Regions from separate parts of the Homo sapiens genome. Here all the other regions are linked to region 2. Evidence: promoter capture Hi-C in 16 types of primary human blood cells and fetal thymus (Javierre and others, 2016). All regions are on one chromosome and are shown on one strand. Each heading gives the region's core, a stretch centred on a gene start or on the middle of the fragment in contact. The rest is flanking DNA. Distances are from core to core; before and after follow the strand shown. Region 1 has its middle 180 kb from the start of LINC02344. Region 2 holds the start of STARD13 (StAR related lipid transfer domain containing 13). Region 3 has its middle 150 kb from the start of LINC02344.

Region 1 (3,913 bases), core at 517-3,016, 230 kb before region 2:
TCTTCCTTGTTACGTTACGTGAATAAAGTTGTTGGTGGATTAGTGGGGACTTCATTAATGGGGGAAACATATTAACAGCATAGCACTGTGTTGCTATTAAACAAACCAGAATGCAAGTTGAACAAAAATCTGCTCAGAAGCTCATAATCTAAGAAAGGTTATAGTAATTTAGATCTATAAAAGCATACACAGAGACTCATAAATACATAATGGCATAGCATGAAAAAAAATCTAAACTTTGTGAGCATGAGTGCAAGTATAATAGTTTTATGTGCTATGGAATTTAAAAATTAGTCATGAGAATTGCATCTTCAGAGAGGATATGGCCAGGTTAAAAACAAGTCAGCACTCACTTCCTTTTTGGGAAAACTTCAAGAGGGAAATAAGATTTCCAACACCTTCATACTATGAGGAGGAAGAAGTTGAGGTTCATGGAAGTCAGTGAATCACGTATGTCTCTCCTCCCAGATTTGAAATCAATTGAGAAATATGTATAGCTATCAGGAAGAGAGAAAATAAACACTTTATTGCTGATAAAGCTAAATTGGAGACCACGCCTCAGACCCCAAGTGTCTTCTTATTTTCTTCTACTCTTATCCCAAATAGAACTCAGTGATCCCAGGTGAGTCAGCCTGTGTGAAAGAGAGAGGGGCTGAGCAAGGATCATCAAACAGTTCTCAAAGGAGAAAGACAAGGAGAATAAACCTCATATGCCTGGTGACCCTTTACCCTATCTCACTCATCAGATAAGTCAACAGTCAGCACATTTTCTGTAAAGGGCCAGATAGTAAATATTTTAGGCTTTGAGGCCATGTGGTTTTGGTTCCAACCACTCAACTCTGCTGTTGTTGCATGAGAGCAGCTGTAGACAATATATAAACAAGTGAATGTGGCTGTTGTTATTATTTTACTAGGGTTGCCATAACAAAGTACCACACATTGGGTGGCTTAACCAGTAGAAATTTACTGTCTTACAGTTCTGGAACTAGAAGCCTGAGATCAAGATATGCACAGGGTTGGTTTCTTCTGAGGACTGGGAGGGAGAATCTGTTCCAGGACTCTCTGGTATCTTCTAGTGGTTTGCTGGCAATCTGAGCTTTCAAGAACCTGGGATGAAGCTATGGTTAGAGTGAAAAAACGGCCGAGCGCAGTGGCTCATGCCTGTAATCCCAGTACTTTGAGAGTCCGAGGCAGGTGGATCACCTGAGGTCAGGAGTTCAAAACCAGCCTGCCCAACATGGCGAAACCCCATCTCTACTAAAAATTCAAAAAATTAGCCAGGCGTGATGGCGGGCACCTATAAACCCAACTACTCGGGAGGCTGAGGCAGGAGAATCACTTGAACTCTAGAGGTGGAGTTTGCAGTGAGCCGCAATCACGCCACTGCACTCCAGCCTAAGCGACAAGAGCAAAACTTCGCCTCAAAAAAAAGAAAAAAAGAGTGAAAAAACATAGTAAATTTAAAAAGCACCTGTCTTTGCTCTAAGGACTCTAACACTTCTCTAAGACTCTTAATCTTGAAAGCTTTTAGTTATGCATTTTAACAGTATTTATTACTCCTCATCTTGTAAGAAAAGCAAGACTGATTTGCATTGTAAAATTTTGCTCACATATAATAGGATTTTTAGTGCATGTAGATATCACTTTAATCAGCAGTCCTCTTTTGGCACTTAATCTCCTAAGATTGATCTTAGTCTTTAGTTTCCAGTGGCTTGCTGTGTAACCTTTATTTACAAGATTTTGTGAGTCAACTGTTAATTGGGAAGAGTGGTCTTAAGGGACATGCCACCCACCACACTTTCTTCTGGAATACATTCTCCAAAATCTGCTCAAATACCAAGCCACATTACTAAAAACAGCCTGTGTCTCCTTCCTTATTTCAAAGTCTCCATCCAAATTGTCTTCATGGATTTACAATTAAACAAGTGCCTCTGAGCTTTAATTAATGGCCAATTTTTTTTCTATAAGAGCTGTGAAAAGAGCATTTCTGCATCTTTTATGAAGCTTCTGTTAAAGACTCAATTTTATTACATGGGGCTAGTGTATAAAGAGCTAGGTAATTAGTTATTTTTAAACTTTAGTGATAGAAGCAAGTAATCTCTCCTAATGAAGTATTTCCTTCAATTAAGATAACCATGGTACGGAACTTTTTGATATCCATTTTGCTTTGCCTTTTCAGAAGCTCAGCGACCAGTTTTGTACTTGACTCTAGTGGGGAGACTCCGCCTAGGATTTGCAATACAACTTCCTCTTCCTTCATTTTATTATTTGGATCTTTTAGTTTTTAATTTGCTTTAGTGGTTTCATTACATAGTACCTTTTATTGCAAAGAGACACAAAAAATTTTTAAACGTAAGTAGGATACAAATAATAAATAGTAAATGGTTGGCTCTCATCATCACTTTGTCCAGGGGAATCACCCTCTAATACAGATCTTTGTGACCTTAGCTACCTTTTAATGCCATCTCAGTTTACAGTGATTTTTTTGTTTTCCCTACAGATTTTTAAATCAACAATTCCTGTACTGAAATGTTACATTTGTTAAATAAATAAATATATCTTGGACTGCAGAAATACAGCAACTTTTTTTTTTTTGAGATGGAGTCTTGCTGTGTTGTCCAGGCTGGAGTACAGTGGTGTGATCTTGGCTCACTGCAACCTCCACCCCCCAGGTTCAAGCAATTCTCCTGCCTCAGCCTCCCGAGTAGCTGGGATTACAGGCACACTCCACCATACCTGGCTAATTTTTTGTATTTTGAGTAGAGAAGGAGTTTTGCCATGTTGGCCAGGCTAGCCTCCAACTCTTGGCTAGTCAAGTCATCCGCCCACCTCAGCCTCCCAAAGTGCTGGGATTACAGGCATGAGCCACTGCATCTGGCCAACATCAGCTTTTAAACAGAAAAAAAAAATTTAGGTGTCAGCTCAATTATTTCTCTTTGAAAGAATTTAAATGAAATAGAAATTATTTTAATTAGCTGTTAGGATTATTTGGCTTGTGAACTCAATTTCAATTATTTGGCTTGTGAACTCAGTACACAAAAATGTATTTATTGACTCAAATAATTTGGAAAACCAGGGCTTATCAGTCCAGCTTTAGATATGACTAGATTTAGAAGTTCAAAATAATTTTCTCTGCTTACTAAACTTGAAGTTGGCTGCATTATTGGGCAGGCTCTCCCCACAATGTGGCAAAAATGACCAGCAGCAGTTCCTAGTTTATGTTGTACTGGCAGCTGGAATTTCTAGTAAAAATAAAAATAAAAAGTCAATTTTTCAATAGCTCCAACAGAAGACCCAGGGAGAGCTTTTATTGTCCTGGCTTTGGTCATGTGATCATCCCTGGATGTAATCACCATGAATGAAGAAATCCAGTACTTTATTGGCCAGGTTTCCATGATAGCAGCCCTAGAGCCAGGAGTTCTAGAGCCCCACCTAAAGAACTTGGACTCAGAATGGGAAAAAGCTCCTAAAGAGCTGAACAAAGCACAGGTTAACTATGTCTCTCATTATCTTTCCATCCCTTGGCTGCCCAGTATCCATATGAGCCTTCTTTCTATTTATAAAATTCTCAAAGTGGCCCTTGCAAATATACCTCTACCAGAAAAAATTCCCTACCTTCACTCTAAAGGGAGACTATGCTTAGGCTCATCCAGTTACTGCTTTCAACTTCAATTCCAGAATCTCTAAGTTATGACATTTTTTTGGTTGGGTCTAAATGTAGCTCATCGTGGCTTGGCAACCTCTGGCTAAAAGATAAATTTAGCACTGCCACTTCACATTGGTAGAGAGAAAATGCCATCACTGCAATAAAACTTCCATTTGGAAAAGGCGAGAAGGGCAACCACTGAAGATTGATCTCAAGTCCATCACAATGATCTCATGCTGCTGGGCAAAGAGAGCAAGGACTCTCTGA
Region 2 (3,976 bases), core at 725-3,224:
AAAGCACGTGCACAAAGCAGCTGATGCAAGCACCTTAATTGGACGGCCACCGGTGCGGACTGAGCTGGGCTCATGAACCTTCCAGGCAGCCAACTTTGCAATATGGTGCTCGACCTTTCTCCATTCGAGCTTCTGCCGAGCAGTTCCTTAGGTCTCAGATCCCTTTCACCTTCCACAGACGATGCTATGGAACAGAAAAACTGCTGCTCAAATCCTAAATAAGAATGGAAAGTGCACAGTATGGCCCCATAGATCTTTCTTTCCCTTCCTGCCATGAAGCCAACCTGAAAACAAAGACATGATGACTCTTGTGTAACCACCCGAAGAGGCTGACAATTACCAACTACGTGAGGTAGTAGGCAATTGTCACATGCTGGGCTGCAGAGATCGTGCTTAACTTGTTTATTCTCATAGCGGGACAGTTATACAAGACGAGCTGCTTCTCAGAATCAGGCTAGCAACAATTCCCTCAGGGAAAGTTGTTAAGGCTTATGGGCCTCGGAGAGCCAGAGTAAGAAGAATCAAAGTCCTAATTTAAATCCTGTTAAACTTTTAATTTGGAAATAATGTAGAAATAATTTCTCATTATTAGACTATAAATTCCCAGCCAGGCTATGTTTCCGTCAGCCAAATGTAGAAGCAACTTGGTCATATACTTTTTGTATCAAAGAACTTTATTCTTTCAGCCCCAGGCTCAGAATTTGATAACATGTTTTCTGTGGACTTTTTCTCTTCACATCAAACAATGTTAAAGAAGAAAAACAGGGAAAATTATAATGACATATACATATATGTCACTCAGTGTGTGTATGTATATATATACACACATATATACACATATATATACACACATATATATATACACGTATATATATACACACACACTCAGATATGGCCAAACTGAATTACTAGCAGTTTGCTTAAACCATATACTCTGGTTCTGGATCTGCACACATGGGTACCTACAGTCTCTTGCAAAGCCCTCCCCAGCCTCTGCCTATCAGAATTCCCCCCATTTTAAAAAGCCTATCCAAATGTCTCTTTCTCTATCTGGCTTGCAATCATCACCCCAGTCAAAAATAATATTGCTCACCTAGCATTGTGTTTGCGTCCTTTTTGAGACATATATATGGCCTCATGTTAGAAGCTTTTGTATAACTTCTCAATGGGTCCTTAGCAGGTTGATGACAGTATCTTTGAAGTACCTTTGCAACTTCTGCAGTGATTCTTGTCTTAAATGATTCAGTGTCTTAAATGTGATAGGCACCTTCTAAGTATTTTACCTCTAGGTGATTAAAAATTGGGGAAGTAGAGAAATCAAAGAGGAAAGGATGCTTAATACGTAACGCGTGTGTACTTTGCCTCTCTGAGTCTTATCTGTAAGAGCCCTCCAATTCCCATCACGTGAGGGTCAGGATCTGTGGTGTATTCACTCCTGGTGTTAAAGCCCTTGAAGTTTATTTTTCACTGGAAAAGTTTTTATTTGAGTTGTTTCTTGATAATGAAGGTGGTGGCTTACGCTCAGCTGTTGATGCTTGTTTGAAGTAGTTTTTTTTTGTTGTGTTGTGTTTTTTAAATTTAAGAGATTTATCAGGTCCATCTTTTACCTGGCTGCTGCTGCCCTGTAGAAAGCGAAGGAGCTTTCTCTAACTTTGACAGGCTGAAAAGTTTCCTGAGCCCTGGACTTGTTTGTCTTCTACTTGTTTTGCCCTTCCCTCTCTCTTTTTCTTTCGACTCCTTTAGTGAGGGCTGCTTTTGGGTGCTTCGTCAGCTCTGAGGCACGTCAAATACGTGTATTTTGCTTTCAGCGTTGTGTGAGGGACCCTGGCGGCTGGAACTGCCTCTGGTCGGGGCTTAGGGCTGACTGCAAACGTTCCCATTTTCCTCTCTTCCTCTCATTGGTTCCCGAGGTCACGTGAGGGCCCCGGGGGTTGGAATTCTGAGTTGTGGCTTTGGCACTCCTCTTTCTTTTTAAAAATCGCTGGGTCTGTTGAGCTGTCCTGGGCTGGGTGCCTTGCTCTTTGACTGAGACTGGAGACAGACGGCAACAGCCACAGGCAGACTGAGGTGGCAATAGGAAATCTGCCGAGATGTTCAGTCAGGTGCCCAGGACCCCAGCCTCAGGCTGCTACTACCTAAATTCCATGACACCTGAGGGCCAGGAGATGTACTTGCGATTTGATCAGACTACAAGACGCTCTCCTTACAGGATGAGCCGGATTCTAGCACGCCATCAGCTAGTGACTAAAATTCAACAAGGTGAGTGGCCGGCAGTGGAAGGCTGTTGCTCATTCTGATTTCTGTTGGCTCTATTTCATGCTAACCCAGTTTTTTTTGTTTGTTTGTTTCCACTTTATAACATATGGATTTCTATGCCACACTACCCGTAACTTTGAAAAATAACTTTAGGCTGCAGTTTTCAGCAAACAGGACAGTCCTTAGCTGCCACATAGCTCAACATAAAGTGCACAAAAAACTTCACGGTGGGACAGTGAATCATAAATTCCCAAACTGACGTGTGTCTACAGAACAGATGAGAACTGTTACTCAGTGTGTATCTTAGGAGCTTTTCTGCAGTTTCCTCACACTCCGTCACATTTAAAATGTGGACACTTGTTTATTTCATTAGGGAGGAGGCGAGGGACTAATGTCCACCCTGCCCAGAGTATTTCGAATATCCTTAGTGAAGAGGAGGAAAGCAAGAATTCTGTTCTAAAGGCCACCAGGCTAAGCACTAGAATCGCATTCTCTTCCTGTTTGTATGTTTATGTCAGCAGTTGCCACAGATGTGTTAATATTGTTTTCCTGGTAGAGAATTAAGGTGTTCGTTCATCTCAAAACAAATCCCGTAACCTGCACACAAAACTCCAGCTTCCTAATGCAAAGAGAAGAGAATATTGATTATAAGCTGCTTGATATTCTTTTTATTCCCAGCCCCTCAAAATACCAGCCTGGAAGTCTGGACATTACTAAAATTTACCAGTCTCAAAAAAAAAAAAAATTTAAAACATGCTCCTTATAGGGTATATCAGTAGAAAGCAGAAAGACGAACATTCCTAAGAAGCCCCTAACACACACGTTTACAGTCAGTTAATGATCACCCTCCTCCTAGACTACAAAAAAGAAATTATTATATTGGTGCTAAATAAGTTAACCAGGAATTTTTAGAGCCGTTCCTAAGAAGCCCCTAACACACGTTGACAGTCAGTTAATGATCACCCTCCTCCTACACAACAAAAAAAGAAATTATTATATTGGTGCTAAATAAGTTAACCAGGAATTTTTAGAGCCATTATAAAAATACAGTTTCCACTTAAATAAATGAGTTTAAGATTATATTGAATATTAAAGAGGAAGTTGGGGTTTGTAATCATGAAAATCTTATTGTAATGTTTCCAGAAAGAACAATATGTATTCTAGCGGGCAGCATTTGATGAGATTGTTTCCTTGGAAATTAGGATTTGTTTGTAAAGGTTCAGGAACTAGTTATGTGTGAAGGATGCTGGTCCTTCCTACATGCTGGTCTGATTTCAGGAAGGATATTATGTCATTGCATAAACTCTGTGTCCAGGTCTTGATTGAATAGAAACAAAAGTAATTATTTCCCTGTGGCTAGATTTAAAAATACTTTAGGCTTAGAATAAAAACCAGCTCCACTTTGGTTTTAGAAATTTCTGACAATGGTGCCTTTCCAAATGCCATCATCTTTATGAACACCGAGGCTTAATGATGCGCTATCATCTACAAGATATAAATGTTCCTCAGCATGCATATCATATGAGAAATATTGCAGAGAACTAGCTGAAATTGCTTTGCAGACCTCCTTAGATGTATTTACAATAATTTATTTTATTTAAATATTATTTATGTTCTTTTTGGAATGAGGGTTATTTTTCCATTCAAGATTTGAAGTTGTGAACACATGCACTATCACTGAACGTGCCCTGTCACACAGACATATGGGCACCCTCAGTTT
Region 3 (3,411 bases), core at 399-2,898, 200 kb before region 2:
CGCCTGCACCCAGGTGATTAAAAAGCTTTATTGCTCACATAAAGCCTGTTTGGTGGTCTCTTCACATGGACGCGAGTGAAAACATTCAATTGTCATCATTTCACTACCAGAGGTTCTTGCATTTAGGTTCCTCAGAAGAATCCTCTGGGACAACAGGTTTCAAACCTTATTCCTCAGAACTCTACAGCTCCTCATCACATTGTGTGAGGTTTAATGGAGAAACAGATTAGGCTGGACTCTAGATTTCCATTTTATTATTTATCTCTAAGGTTGTAATGTGCAAATAAAGTTTATAAACCATTTTTTTATGAGAAGTGGTTTTAGACAGAGATCCTTGATTGTATTTTATAAAGTCTACAACAGAGTGAGGCTAAGTTCTTGTACTTTCTTTTCAACCCCCAAGGTCTCACAGATCACTGATGAAATGTACCATATAGACTCTTAGGAATTTTTGCTAAATCCTTTCATTGGATTTTAAAAAGAAAAAAACAAAGAAATGAACAAAACAATAATCTTGAAATTTTCCAGATTAGAACACGTTCTCTCCTAATACATGATTTGGGATTTCTTTTCTTAAGGGACTGCTCTGATCTTAGACAATCAAATCATCAATGTTTTCAATTTTATATTAATGTCTCCTAAGCTAACTCAGCCCTCACATTCATTTATTCAAAAATATTTGTTGAGTGTCTACTGTGGTGCCACGTACCAGAAATACCATGGAGAAATGTTTTCCGTTTTCTACCTGGCATTTTTCCAAGGTCTGTTATCCTTTCAACAGTTCAGTTCAGCACAGAACTTGCATTTTAATTTTCATTACAAACAGCCTGCCCATCTACCACTGGCACATTCTCTAGCATGTCATAAGCAAGTCACATGGCCACATAGTATTGAAACGGGAGACTTCCCTGACTCCCTTTACAGGATATGAGACAGGGGTATGGCTCCCTTGTTCGGTTGCCCACTGCTCAGACCCCTTGTGAGAGGAGGAGCATGCAGATGGGCAGGTGCAGAGGCCAGGGCGAGCACTTTGGGCTCTGGCCCCATGGTAATGTCTAATGGTGGGTGCCTGCAACCTCAGTGTTACAAAGCTCTTTCAGCTTGGCCACCCGCAGACGGCTTGAGTGTTAATCAGCTCAGTGGACCTTCTGCCTTTTCGCAAGGGCAGAGGGCCAGTGTGACAGCTTCCTGTATCCCGAGCTCTTGTCCAGTGTCCCGGAAAAATTGGGTCACACACGGACTGGAAGGATGAATGTGAGGTTTTATTGAGTGGTAGAGGTGGCTTTCAGTGTGGTGGATGGGAAGCTGGAAGGGCGGGGGCTGGGGGATGGAGTGGGAAGGTATCTTCCCCTGGAGTTGGGCCACCCAGCGGCCGGAGGCAAAACTCCTCTTGCACCACCCCCAGCCAAACTCCTCTCAGCATCCAGATGCCCCTACTCTTCTTTCTCTCTGCCGCGTTGTTCCACTGTCGGTCTGCTTGCCTCCTGTGTCCTCACCTGCTGGTCTGCTCTGGAGCTTGGGATTTGGGGTTTATGTGGGTGCAGGATAGGGGATGTGGCGGACCAAAGAGGAGCGCGAAAACAGGAATATTTGTTCTCATTTAGGGCCATGAGTATCCAGGCTTGAGGGTGGGGCCTTTGCCGGGGAACTGCCTTCTTCTACCCAGTATTTCCCTGTCTCCTGTCCATATCAGTATAGTACATACCTACTAGCATCCTTCAATTTGCTATTTCAAATTAATTCCCCAGCGCAAAATAAGCATGTGGAATTCCTTAAAACACATAAAAAAACAAATTTTTGAAATCAGGTTGTAAACTATTGTCATTAATTCCATTTATAATTGTATCAGATAAAATTCTGTTAGTGGTTATTTAAACTTATGTGAAAGTTTAAAAAAAATTTACTTAATGAGTAATATTATTACTTTATGTCACAACCATTGCTTGCTTAACATACAGTTTTTCCTTAAGCTCAAGGTTATCGATCCATTTGATTTTTTTCCTTTCAGCAATGTTCCAATTTTGAAAATGATCTCAAAAATGATTTCTACCCCTTTTAGAAGAAAGAATACAATGGGTTACATTTCTGGTCTGGTAATTCTCTGAGAGTCTTCATGCAAATAATGAGAACTTGCAAAATGGGCAGAGATAAAGAAAAGAAAACTTGAAGTGATTAGCCCCATGGTGCGTCGCTGTTTCTTGAGCTTTTCAAATGCAAGCCACCATTGTTCAGATTAATAAAATTAGCACATTCCATTTTGGCCGTAGAAGCTGGATAAGTAAATTACTTCATACTTTCCATTAAACTCTAATTTAAACACTTTGAAAAGAAAGTATAAAAGGAAATTTTAATAGGTACATTGTTTTCAGATGTCTATATCCTGTTTTTTATTAGTTGATTGGACTTGACCCACATAAAAGTAACATTTAATTTCTCTAAGTCATGTATTAGACATTGGTCAGAGAAAGAAAATGAAGAATAATATGATGGCTTCTTAGCTTTTATTATAACTAAATAGAAAAATATCTGAATACTGGACCACTAAATTAATTTTTAACTTGGTTTACCAAGAGATAACTTAATAACACAAAAGGCTTTACTATAGTGAGTTGCCCTATGGAAGTTAAAAGAGAAGGCAGAAAACTATAAAGGCTATATGACTACATATAGATTATATAACTTGATATTTATTTTCCTGAACTGAGAGTTGATCTTTTTTTATTAGCAATTCTAATCAATTGATTAATCATTGACCAGAGGAAGAAAACTAATAATAAAATATGCTGGTATGAACTAGTTTATTAATAGTGGGGGAAGAGATGTGAATACCTTAGAAAGATATTTAGAAGCTAGAATCATTTAGGCAGGGTGTGAAATTAGAAAGAGATGGAAGAATGAAGGGTGACTCCCAGCAGAAAGCACACTGCAGGAAGACCAAGTCCAGTCAGCAGGGTGTGTTCAACTTGAGTGTAATGAATCTGAGGGACTTGAGGGTTAACCCAGTGGAGATGATTGTTGGGGAATTAAATATGAGTCTGAAATTCAGGTAAAGAAAATGTGTTAATAAGCATGACTTAAATGCTTTAAATGTGTTAACACAAAATCATATATGATCACAGCATAAAGAGGGATGAATTCTGTGAATATCAAAGAAGGCTACAGAGAGAAGTTGGTATTTGAACTTGAAAGATAGATAGGATTCCAGTAGTTGGAGAGAAGAAAGGATATTCCAGCTTAGGGCAATTTCATGTGCCAAGATTCAAAAGCTTGAAAGTGTTTGTATGATCAGGAAATGTCTGGTAGAAGAAAAAGCATAGAATTCATGAAGATAATGAGTATTCATGCCCAAAAGGAAGATCATTGCCTAGTAATATTTTGATCTCATTCTTAAAAATCTTCATTCTATTCTCG

What was found. Contacts are between HindIII fragments. The CHiCAGO score rates a contact against its expected background, and 5 or more counts as called.
Region 1: a contact is called between a fragment that was not itself captured here and the fragment with the promoter of STARD13 in region 2, in 1 of 17 cell types (endothelial precursors). The highest score is 6.5, in endothelial precursors.
Region 3: a fragment that was not itself captured here is called in contact with the fragment with the promoter of STARD13 in region 2 in 2 of 17 cell types (endothelial precursors and megakaryocytes); the score reaches 6.6 in endothelial precursors.

What each region holds. Positions count from the first base shown.
Region 1 is chr13:33,509,995-33,513,907 of GRCh38, reverse strand. It overlaps a transcript of STARD13 not described here. Among named protein-coding and RNA genes, the nearest start is that of LINC02344, 180 kb to the right of the region's middle. The HindIII fragment of the contact is 480 bases long and covers 1,527-2,006 here.
Region 2 is chr13:33,283,753-33,287,728 of GRCh38, reverse strand. It overlaps STARD13 (StAR related lipid transfer domain containing 13), which reads left to right and starts at 1,974. Exons shown (of 14, transcript NM_178006.4): 1 at 1,974-2,259. The coding sequence starts at 2,091. RefSeq lists enhancers at 1,672-1,801, 1,812-1,871. The HindIII fragment of the contact is 3,531 bases long and covers 1,150-3,976 here.
Region 3 is chr13:33,488,531-33,491,941 of GRCh38, reverse strand. It overlaps a transcript of STARD13 not described here. Among named protein-coding and RNA genes, the nearest start is that of LINC02344, 150 kb to the right of the region's middle. RefSeq lists an enhancer at 1,882-2,458. The HindIII fragment of the contact is 3,241 bases long and covers 28-3,268 here.